2 separate regions of the Homo sapiens genome follow, and region 2 is linked to region 1. The links are contacts of gene promoters, found by promoter capture Hi-C in blood cells and fetal thymus (Javierre and others, 2016). All regions are on one chromosome and are shown on one strand. Each heading gives the region's core, a stretch centred on a gene start or on the middle of the fragment in contact. The rest is flanking DNA. Distances are from core to core; before and after follow the strand shown.

Region 1 (5,817 bases), core at 2,452-4,951:
AGGAGACCAGGATTCTAGTTTCAACTCTGGCCACCATCTTGGCCCACAACCTCAGGTGAGTCCCTTTATCAGACTAAGGTTCACTTTCATCCATGAACAAGTGGGTTGAATGAAGGTATCTACCGTATCTCTCAAAGTCAAGGTCTTTATCGTGGCCCACAAGGAAGGCCTACATAGTCTTGTCACATGCCTACATCTTCAGCTTTGTCACTTACCATTCCCCTGCTCACTTCCCGTTTCAGCTACATAGATCCTCTTTCTGGTCCCCTATGAGGCTGCACCAGCTTCTACCAATAGCCTATGTCCATACTTGCTGTTCTTGCTGCCTCCATCATTCTGCTCCCTTCACATGACTGGGTCCCTCTCAACCTTCAGTCCTTTAATGCCCATTCCTCTGTGTCCTTCCTCGACCACATTACATAAAGTAAAAGGTCCTGTCCCCAACTCCCAGGGGTTATTTTCGACAGGAGTGTTGTCCAATAAAAATACAACAAAAGCCACAAACAAAACACCTAACTTTACATTTTCTTTCTTTTTTTTTTTCTTTGAGAGAGAGTTTCGCTCTTGTTGCCCAGGCTGGAGTGCAATGGGATGATCTCAGCTCACTGCAACCTCTACCTCCCAGGTTCAAGCAATTCTCCTGCCTCAGCCTCCCAAGTAGCTGGGATTACAGGCATGCACCACCACGCCCGGCTAATTTTTTATATTTTTAGTAGAGACATGGTTTCTTCATGTTGGTCAGGCTGGTCTCAAACTCCCAACCTCAGGTGACCCACCCGCCTCAGCCTTCCAAAGTGCTGGGATTACAGGCATGAGCTACCACACCCGGCCCACTTTACATTTTCTAGTAGCCACATTTTAAAAGTTTTTTAAAAAGCAACATTAATTTTAATAATATATTTTCTTTAATCCAATATATCGTAAGTGTTATCATTTATTCAACATGTAATCAGCATAAAAGTTAAGGTACTGTACATTATTTTCACGTGGCCAGGGGCAGTGGCTCACGCCTGTAATCACAGCACTTTGGGAGGCCAAGGCTGGCAGATCACCTGAGGTTGGGAGTCAAGACCAGCCTGACCAACATGGAGAAACCCCATCTCTACTAAAAATACAAAAATTAGCCAGGCGTGGTGGCGCATGCCCGTAATCCCAGCTACTCAGGAGGCTGAGGCAGGAGAATCGCTTGAACCCAAGAGGCAGAGGTTGCAGTCAGCTGAGATCTCACCATTGCACTCCAGCCTGGGCAACAAGAGTGAAACTCCATCTCAAAAAAAAAAAAAAAAAAAAAAAAAGATATTGTACATTATTTTCATACTAAATCTTTGAAATCCAGTGTGTATTTTGCACATGTAGCAGATCTAAATTCGAAACTAGTCACATTTTAAGTATTCAATAATCACATGTGCCTAGTGGCTACTATACAAAGCAGTGCAATTTTATAGCATACTCTGCTATATTCCCTTCCCAGCACTTACCACAAACTGAATGCATTGTTTACTTATTATCTTGTAACTTCCCACCAGATGCTCCACAAAAGCAAGAATCTTGTCTTTTATTCAGTGTTGTATACCCAGTGGATAGACTGCCTTGCACACAGTAGGTGTTCAATATATATTTGTTGAGCAAATGAATGAAACTCTTCTAGCTTTAATGGGCTAGCCATTCTAGAAATTCCAAGCCGGCATACAATCACTGATTTAATAACTTGCCTATTTCCCTTCATCTTTCACTATCAATTAAACTGTCTTTAAAAGAAAAATCTCTTGGCTATATAGCTCCCCATTGCTGAACTGTTCTTTCCCATGATGTCTTAAGCGTCCAGGGTCAATTTCTTGTACTTTGGCTGAGGGAGTGGTATGAAAATAACTGCTAATATTTACTGAATGTTTACTCTTTGGCAAGCATTGTCTAAGGACTTTCCATTTCTCAACAGCTTCACAACAGCCCTGTGAGGCAGCTACCGTCACTGTCCCCCATTTACAGATGAAGAAACCAAGGCAGAGAGAAATTAAGTATTTTGTTCAAGGTTACAGCAGCCAGTTAGTAGCAAAACAGAGACTGCCAGCAACCTAGGGGTCCAGACTCATGGCTCTTAATCACCTATTCTTGACTGCAGGGCTGTCTAACAAAAATATAAGCTGAACTATATATGTTGTTTTAAATTTTCTAGTAAACACATTAAAATGTCAAGAGGGGCAGTTAAAATTGGTTTTAAACATATTTTATTGGCTGAGTGTGGTGTGTGGTGGCTCATACCTGTAATCCCAGCACTTTGGGAGGCCAAGTGGGAAGACTGCTTGAGGCTAGGAGTTTGAGACCATCTTGGGCAACATAGCAAGACCCTGTCTCTACAAAAAATTTAAAAATCAGCCAAGCATAGTGATGCCTGCCTGCAGTCCTAGCTACTTGGGAGGATACCTTAGACCTAGGAGTTTAAGGCTACTGTGAGCAATGATTGTGCCACTGCACTCCAGCATGGGCGACAGAGCAAGATCCTGTCTCTAAATAACAATAAAATAAAATTTTAAAAATTAATTAAGTATATTTTATTTCACCCATTATCCAAAATATGATCATTTAATCAATATGACCAATAACCAATGTAATTGATATAATCAGTACGATCATGTAATCAATATAAAAATTTCACTTTTTCCATACTAGTCTCCAACCCAAATGTGTCTTTATACTTACAGTATTTCTCAATTCAGACTAGTCACATTTCAAGCAATCAACAGCCTATGTGGCTAGTGGCTACGACATTCGGCAGTGCAGCTCTACTGCTCCTCGCAATGACCCTCCTATGGAATCAAAGTGGGGGAAAAACTTTGGGGTGGAAGTCAGTACGCCTGAGCTCAAATTCCAGCTCCTTGTTTCTGAGTGACTTTGGACAAGCCCTTTCTGCTCTCTAGGTCCCATACAGTTTCCCCACAAGTTTCCTAGGCAAGGGGGACCCTGAGCAAGATTCCTAGAAACTCATTCCATGCTAGAATTCCCAACATCTCCTGCAAATCGCAGTAAACACAAGCACAGCTTTCCACACTTTAAAACCAGCTTTCATACATATCAGTTGGTACAGTCCTCAAACAACCCTACTAAGGCAGTTATTAGTGTCTCCACTATATAGATACAAAAACTTGGTTCAAAGAGGGGGGGAATGACTTGTCCAAAAGCCACATAGCCAGTCAGTGGAGAAGCTGGAGATCAAATCCAAGTGAGACCAGTGCACTCCCACCGCCGCCACCACCATCACCTCAATGACTGGGGGGACATGAGAGCTGAGAGGACATGGTTGTGAAAAAAAGGATAGTCTGGGGTTTCAGAGGAGTTTCAGGGAACCAGGCCCCAGGGTGAGGAAGAGGAGGTGAAGGGCTCAGGTCTTGAGAAGGGATGAATCGAAAGGGCCCAGGAGGGCTTCGGAGAGCAAAGTAAAACGAGGGGCTGAGACCCCGGGTGGCATGAGAAGTTAGAGGGCCCGGGAGTGAGGCGAGAGGAGGTGAGATGAAAGGGCTCTGGCTCCTGCGACCCCTGCCCAGGTGAGAACGCGGTCGCTCGGCCCTCCCTGCCCCTCATACCTGGTAGCTCAGAAGTTCGCCCACGTCCATGGTACCCGGCCCAGCAAATACTCCACTTCCCTGCACTCACGCCCAGACCGCGGGCCCGTCAGCCGCGGCTCCAGCCACACTGCCGTAAAGTGCGGCGAGCGGAGCCGCAGAGCCAATAGGGCAAAAGTGCGAGCGACAAGCGAGCCGGCCACACCGCGGTAAAAGGACGCGCCGCCGTAAAGCGCGCTGCATTTGGAACAGGGTTGCTTCCGCCTGGAGCCTGAGGGGGCGGGGAAAGGGGGCGGAGACTTAGAGGAGGGGCGGGAGGGGAGAGCAGGGACCAGAAGAAACCAAACTTGATTGCGCGTCCCTAGTGTCCAGGGCGGAGTGCCGGGTGTTTCGTGTGCGCTCTCACGAGCTTCCAGTGATTTATCCTCATTTCACAGAAAAGGAAACTGACGCTCCCAACTGCACCATCCAATACTTTACTCACTAGCCACATATGGCTACCGAGCGCTTGAGATATGGCTACTCCGAAGTGAGATGTGCCATAAGTGTAAATAAAATACACACCAGATTTCTAAGACTTACATTGATTACAGGTTGAAATGATATTTTGGATATACTGGGTCAAATTCATATATTATAAAATGAATTTTACCTGTTTCTCTTTACTTCTTAAATGTGGTTAGTAGAAAGTTTTAAATTACACATGTGGCTCTCATTTGTGGTTCCCATTAATTTCTATCAGATAGTGCTGGCTCAAAAAGTGACTTGTTCCAAGGCTGTACAACTATTACTGGCTGAGAAACTATTGGTGATCACATGTCCCTCTCTAGGCTTGTGTCTGCTCATCTATGCGAAGTCTAACGGTCACTAGATGATCCCCTTGCTACCCAGGTGATATAAAAAGGTTTCTGGAGGAGAAAGTTGCCCATAATTGGAAGAGAATCATTCAGAGTGCATCTGATCTTAAACAAGATCAGAATGCACCTGGGACTTAAGGCTCCATCTTCAAAGGAAATTAAACCTCCTTCCATAAGCCCCTGTCCTTTATATTTATAATTATATTTATGTATTATATTATATTTATATGCCCTTCATATTTATAATTTTGGTCCCCATCCCATCTGCACTGGCTCCAATTATACAGAAATTATTCTTATTCCTCAGAATGACAAATCCTCTCCCCTTCTGCCTGGCCATCAGCACCATACCTCATCCAATTCTCTCATCTTTCGGGTCTCAAATGTCACTTTCTTACAAGGGCTTCTTCAACTCACCCTGGTCCAGGTAATCAACCTCTCTCCTCATTATTCTTTTTCCAAGTACCTGCTCCACTACGTATATATCTCATTCTGTAATTTTGTGCTTAATGGTTGACTATTTGTTTCTTGACAGCCTCATTTACTGGATTGCAAGCTCTATGCAAGCAGGACATGTGTGTGTCATGTTCACCACTGTATCCCCCAAGCCTAGTACAGTGCCTGGTAGAGGGAGAGGTTTCATAATGGGCCTTGTGTGCCATGGTAAAGAGATTAGATTTTGGCTAGGCGTGGCCGGGCGTGGTGGCTCACGCCTGTAAGCTCAGCACTTTAGGAGGCCAAGGCGGGCAGATCACTTGAAGTCAGGAGTTTGAGACCAGCCTGACCACCATGGTGAAACCTCGTCTCTACTAAAAATTACAAAAATTAGCTGGGCATGGTGGCACATGCCTCTACTTGGGAGGCTGAAGCAGGAGAATCGCTTGAACCCAGGAGGCAGAGGCTGTAGTGAGCTGAGATTCCACCACTGCACTCCAGCCTGGGTGACAGAGCAAGACTCTGTCTCAAAAAAAAAAAAAAAAAAAAGAGAGAGAGATTGGATTTTATGCTAACGGCATAAGGAAAGTTTTAAGCAAGGTAGTTTTGTGACTGGGCTTATGTTTTTAAAGGATCACCTATGCAATCTGCATTGAATTCAGTCTATTTGGGTGTCTTTCCCCCTCCTACTTATATAAGAATATGGACTGTGCCCGGCCGGGTGTGGTAGCTCACGCCTGTAATCCCAGCACTTTGGGAGGCCGAGGAGGGCAGATCACGAGGTCAGGAGATTGAGATCTTCCTGGCCCACATGGTGAAAACCCATCTCTACTAAAATACAAAAAATTAGCCAGGTGTGGTGGCACGTGCCTGTAGTCCCAGCTACTTGGGAGGCTGAGGCAGGGGAATCGCTTGAACCAGGGAGGTGGAGATTGTAGTGAGCCAAGATGGCACCACTGCACTCCAGC
Region 2 (5,817 bases), core at 1,241-3,740, 350 kb before region 1:
AGCCTTCATTCTGTTTCTCTTAGAAGGCCAAGATGATCTCTGCCTTAAGTTTTTCTTAATAGCTGCTCCCGCTTCGCATGATTACCGCAAATGTCATTTCCTTAGAGGCCTTCCTGAACCACACTACCTGTGAGATCCTACTCTAGAACATCACTCCATTTTACTATGTCCATATTGTCCTGCTCTGAAAGTATCTTGCTCATTTAATTGTCTTTGCCTGCCTTGTTCACTGCTGCTCCCCCCGTGTCTGGATCCATACTTGGCACATAGAAGGCACTCCAATACATGTTGAATGAAAAATGACATGGACAGCTGTCTCCTCACTGGGAAGAAAACAAGGCACTTGTATGAAAAGCAAGTTTGCAGTCTGGTTAATTAAACTGCTATTCAAATCAAATCTATCCTATGAACTTGGCAGCTTTCTCTGACTTGAGAGTTTTTTTTACTGTTTGTTTGTTTTGGGTGTGGAGGTGTCTTTTATCATAAAAATATCCCTCATCAATTTAGTCAACAGTAATGGGTCAACTATCTTTGTTCATCAACTGACCACAGAAAAAGCACACAGAAAGTATATGTTAATTAGGCTACTCCTACTGTGGACGAGCTGCATCACGGTTGAAGCAGAACTGTTGGACTTTCTGTCCCAATAATGGGGTATAAGAAAGGAGATTGGAAACATGGGTATCCTGAATGTAATACCCAAGCAGAATCTTAAAAGAACCAGAATGCAAACAGAAAGGAATTCGGGCTATTTTATTGAGAAGGACCAGGTTTATCTTCCTCACACTGCCACTGAATCTGCCAAGACACCTAAAACCTGGCTAGTTTTTAAGGTGTTCCCAAGAAAAAAGGAATTTTTAACCCTGGTGTTGCCCACCCCCTTTTCCACCCCTTTCTATTTACTTTTTGGTTTCAGGACAGCTAAAGATTACAGATCGTTTGTCTGTTTGTAATTTAGAGACAGGGTCATGCTCTGTTGCTAAACCTGGAGTGCAGTGGTATGATTATAGCTCACTACAGCTTTGAACTCCTGGGCTCAAGCAATCCCCCTGCCTCAGCCTCCCAAGTAGCTAGGACTACAGGTGCACACCACCATGCCTGGCTAATTTTTAAAAAATTTTTTGTAGACACAGGGTCTCACTATGCTGCCCAGGCTGGAATTTTTTAATAACACTGTTATGTTTACTATCCCTACAAGAAATCATTCCAGCCAACTCCCTAGACCAAATCTCTTCCATAATGAGTTAACATTAATTAACTCATTTAACAAATATTTACTGAACGCCTACTGTGTCAGGGCAGACCATAATGTTGCCCAGCTCCTGGGACACCACTTACATGGAGGCTATATAAATGGTATTCCTTCAAGCTACATAACTCAGCAGCTCTGTGCCAGACACTTTACTAGGTGCCTGGAATATAGGAAAAAACAAATGATCCAATGAATGAGCAAATGTGGAACAGGCATTGTACTACATACTTTTAAACATATTGTCTGTCTTTACCCTCACAACTCTTATGAGGGGGAGTGGTATCCTCCCCCTTTAGCCAGTTAGGAAATTTGGGCTCAAAAAGTTAAGTAACACATCCAAGGTCACTCACATAGTGTCTGAGGCAGAGCTACCATCAATTTCTAAGCAACTGTGAACTAAATCTCATCAAAGCAAGAAAATCTGTCTATTTCAGATAGCTCCTCTAGTAGTCTGTTCTAAGCTTACTCTGTTATGAAGATTCAGTATTTTTTTCAAGTTAATAACACATTTTGCTACTTGCGCCCATGTTGATCAAAAGGTGAGCCAGTTATGTAACTTATCCACAAAAACCATCTTTTTCATCTCTAGAAAGCTAGGTGTCATTTCTTTCTCTTGGATTTCTAATTTTATTCCTTCAAACTTTTCAAATCCTGCAATGAAAGCAGGACTTCATTTCTCATTTAAGGCCTTTCACTATATTTTAGACCTAGTAACAATTTATGTTTAACCTACTAGTCTCCCATTCATGTTTCCCAATTCCTTTTGCAAATATCTGTTTATATATTTACTTATAAACATAATATTCTAATGAACGATAGTTTTTCTTTGCTTTTCCTGGGCACCTAATTTAAGCCCACAGAAAGCTTTTGTTTTTACATGAAGTAAAGTAATTTATAAAACTTTTAATCCAATGTATGCTTTCTATGGTATTAGTTGTATGAGTGCCACTCCTCTCTGCCACAAAACACAACAGCACCAGGCTTAATACAATATAGCCAGAGCAAACACCTACTTTCTACACTAATAATTACTATTATTGCAGTTACAGTAATGCCTACTATTTTTAGTAAACTAGACATCTAGAAATCCAGAAGGAAATAAAAAGGAAGGCATTTGGCAATTAATTTCTTGCTATTAAGTTATGTTACTAAAAGGTTCCCTTACTAGTTAGCTTTGTTTTTTGATCATAAGCTGATGAGACAACTCAACCAAACCAAGGAAAATACCATAACCAAGAAATAAATTCAAAAAATGAAAATGAATATATCTAGAAGAAAGATAATGCTAGGCTGAATCTCTCAAATGTATCAGAATGTTTACATGTCTCGATAGTTCTTGAGGGCTCAACAAAACATAAAACCACAATTCGGCCTCCACAACTCTCTGTAAAGTAGGAAGTTGTCAATTTACAAAGGCTATCACAGAAAAGGAAAGAACAAAAAGGTGGGAAAGGCAATGAATTTAAAAACAAATCCAAAAAACAGACAACATACCTGGCAACATGAGAAAAAGCATCCACAAGGACAGATTCAAATTCTCTAGTGAATTCAGGTCCTTTCCTTTTACTGTTTTGGATGACATCATTCGCTAAATACAGAAAAGTAAGCTTTCTATTTGATTTGGCTGAAAAAAAGAAAAGAAAAGAATTTAACTTACACCAAAGAAATTCTCAATTCACAATTCTTTTGCCCTGGGCTGCTCCTAAAAAAACATTAAGACAAGTATTATCTACCTGGGGGGTCAAGTAGATATGTTTAAAAAGACCACCTAAGGAATAGGTTTGGGAATACCATTTCGGAAAAAAAAAAAAGAAAAAGAAAAAGAATGGGCCATCTTCATTGCTGTGTTGTTTAAACCAGGGTAATTAATTGATAGTAAAAATTAAGATAATCCAAAGAGAATTCCTAAAGGATAAGCAGTCAGTGTTAATGTTGAAACTAGGGCTTTTATTTATTCTACTGCAAAAATGAGCAACTTCTAACTCACTTTTAATTATCAAATATTTCAGAATGAAAGACTGAGTTGGCCGGACGCAGTGGCTCATGCCTGTAATCTCAGCACTCTGGGAGGACGAGGTGGGTGGATCATTTGAGGTCAGGAGTTTGAGACCAGCCTGGCCAACATGGTGAAACCCTACCTCTACTAAAGATACAAAAATTAGCCGGGTGTGATGGTGGGCACCTGTAGTCCCAGCTACTCAGGAGGCTGAGGCAGGAGAATCGCTTGAACCCAGGAGGTGGAGGTTGCAGTGAGCCGAGATTGCACTACTGTACTCCAGCTTGGGCAATAGAGCAAGACTCTGTCTCAAAAAAAAAAAAAAAAGACTGAGTTAGGTTTCAATTTTAAAATGGTTTCGCCGAGCGTGGTGGCTCATGCCTGTCATCCCAGCACTTTTGGAGGCCGAGATGGACGGATCACCTGAGGTCGGGAGTTTGAGACCAGCCTGACCAACGTGGAGAAACCCCGTCTCTACTAAAAATACAAAATTTGCCTGGCGTGGTGGCACATGCCTGTAATCCCAGTTACTCAGGAGGCTGAGGTGGGAGAATCGCTTGAATCCGGGAGGTAGAGGTTGTGGTGAGCCTAGATCATGCTGTTGCACTCCAGCCTGGGCAACAAGAGCAAAACTCCGTCTCAAAAAAAAAAAAAAGGTTTCTTGTAATTTTGCTCCTAAACTGAGAATTTCTCTGATACTCCAATAACCATAATCAATAATATAGAAGAATCTCTAGGTGCACCAATAGATATTAGCTCAAATACAAGTATACATTAACACTACACTCTTATTGAAAATTTACACACGTGTGAAATCTAGATATGCAAAATTAGGGCTTTCACAAAAACCATAATTCTCTCTTATTTATATGAAATGTGGTTATTCCCTATTACTCTATATGGTATCATATATTAAACCATAAAAACCTCGTGCAATATGTCTGAGTTACAGTTGCTTTGGGGAACATTACTGAATTCCCTGGCTTCTATGCACATAATTTCTCAACTATAAAGTTACATCCCTACAATTTTTGGTTCCAATTTTCTTTTAAAAGAAATAAATAAGAACATAATTAGATGTTTCAAAACACAAAGTTTTCTCCAATGCTAAAGTACCTGAAAAACACAAGCTCTTTATCAACCTTAACACACCTGAGTAACTCTATTTCTCTCTGAAACCAGTTGTTTCTTTTGAAATGTACAAAGCATTGATATGTCTGACATAGCAGGCATAAGATCTGACATTTTAAAATGTAGCTACAGGAGGCTGGGCACAGTGGCTCACGCCTGTAATCCCAGCACTCCGGGAGGCCAAGGCAGGTGGATCACCTGAGGTCACGAGATCAAGGCCATCCTGGCTAACATGGTGAAACCTTGTCTCTACTAAAAATACAAAAAATTAGCCAGGCGTGGTGGCGGGCGCCTGTAGTCCCAGCTACTCAGGAGGCTGAGGCAGGACAATGGGGTGAGCCCAGGAGGCGGAGCTTGCAGTGAGCCGAGATCACACCACTGCACTCCAGTCTGGGTGACAGAGCAAGACTCTGTCTCAAAAAAAAAAAAAAAAAAAAAAAACAAAACAAAAAAAATCAGCCGGGCGTGGTGCCAGGCGCCTGTAAACCCAGCTACTTGGGAGGCTGAGGCAGGCGAATCACTTGAACCTGGGAGGCGGAGGTTGCAGTGAGCCGAGATCGCGCCAACTGCACTCCCACCTGGGTGACAGAGTAAGAGACTCCGTCTCAAAAAAAAAAAAAAAAATGTAGCTACAGGAGAGTAACCCAAGTTAAAAACATGATTTTAATAGCACATTACAGTTTAAACTGATGAAACTGATGTCTTAAATGCTCATAAAATTAAATATGGATACCCTGAATTGTCTTAACCTTCTGGTAATAACCTAGTTTAGATGGCCAACTGATAAGAATACTAGGAACCTGGAGCTTTCTTCAACTTTCTAATTATTATTCAAAAGCAGAACAAAAGTGTCAGTAGTTACAATATCTACTGTTGCTACAAAGGTATGATTATGGCAAAACGTGCTTTTTTGTTAAAGCAAACCTTGCTCTGCAAAGTTGATGTAAGTGAAACTACTACACCTATAATCCCATGCAAGTTAGCAGATTCGAAAGCAAAACAGAACTTCAACAAAGCAAATTTCATTAAGTGAAGCTTTAAAATTCCATACACTTTATGTTGAAAAAAAAAAAACCTAGAATCCATATTGTAAAATGTCAGTGTGGACATTCAAGACCTGATATATACTTCTCAGTAGACAAACAAGGTATCTAAGGGGCTTGAGACCCAAGGTTTTCACTGTTTACAATGCCAATTAATTTTCATCACCCCAGAACTTAACAATGGGGATTTATTTAGGATAAACTGTATCCCTCCATATTCAACATCCTCAACAGTCAACATAAGCACCATGTGTGTCAAGGTGATATGACAAAACCCTAGAGCTCTTGAGCACACACAGTCACAATACACACAACATGCACACCCCTCCATCCCAATCCTGGGGGACAACTCACTTGTTCAGATGTCCTTCCTATACGACAGAAATAGGTCCTTT

Evidence for each region. Contacts are between HindIII fragments. The CHiCAGO score rates a contact against its expected background, and 5 or more counts as called.
Region 2: a fragment that was not itself captured here is called in contact with the fragment with the promoter of CTNNBL1 in region 1 in 1 of 17 cell types (fetal thymus); the score reaches 5.4 in fetal thymus.

The regions. Positions count from the first base shown.
Region 1 is chr20:37,691,914-37,697,730 of GRCh38, reverse strand. It overlaps CTNNBL1 (catenin beta like 1), which reads right to left and starts at 3,701. Exons shown (of 16, transcript NM_030877.5): 1 at 3,579-3,701. The coding sequence starts at 3,608. RefSeq lists a silencer at 231-380 and an enhancer at 3,364-3,423. The HindIII fragment of the contact is 18,373 bases long and covers 1-5,817 here.
Region 2 is chr20:38,037,494-38,043,310 of GRCh38, reverse strand. It overlaps RPRD1B (regulation of nuclear pre-mRNA domain containing 1B), which reads right to left. Exons shown (of 7, transcript NM_021215.4): 2 at 2,747-2,876. It overlaps LOC124904898 (a long non-coding RNA gene), which reads right to left. Exons shown (of 2, transcript XR_007067579.1): 2 at 5,204-5,817. Among named protein-coding and RNA genes, the nearest start is that of RPRD1B, 6.7 kb to the right of the region's middle. The HindIII fragment of the contact is 743 bases long and covers 2,119-2,861 here.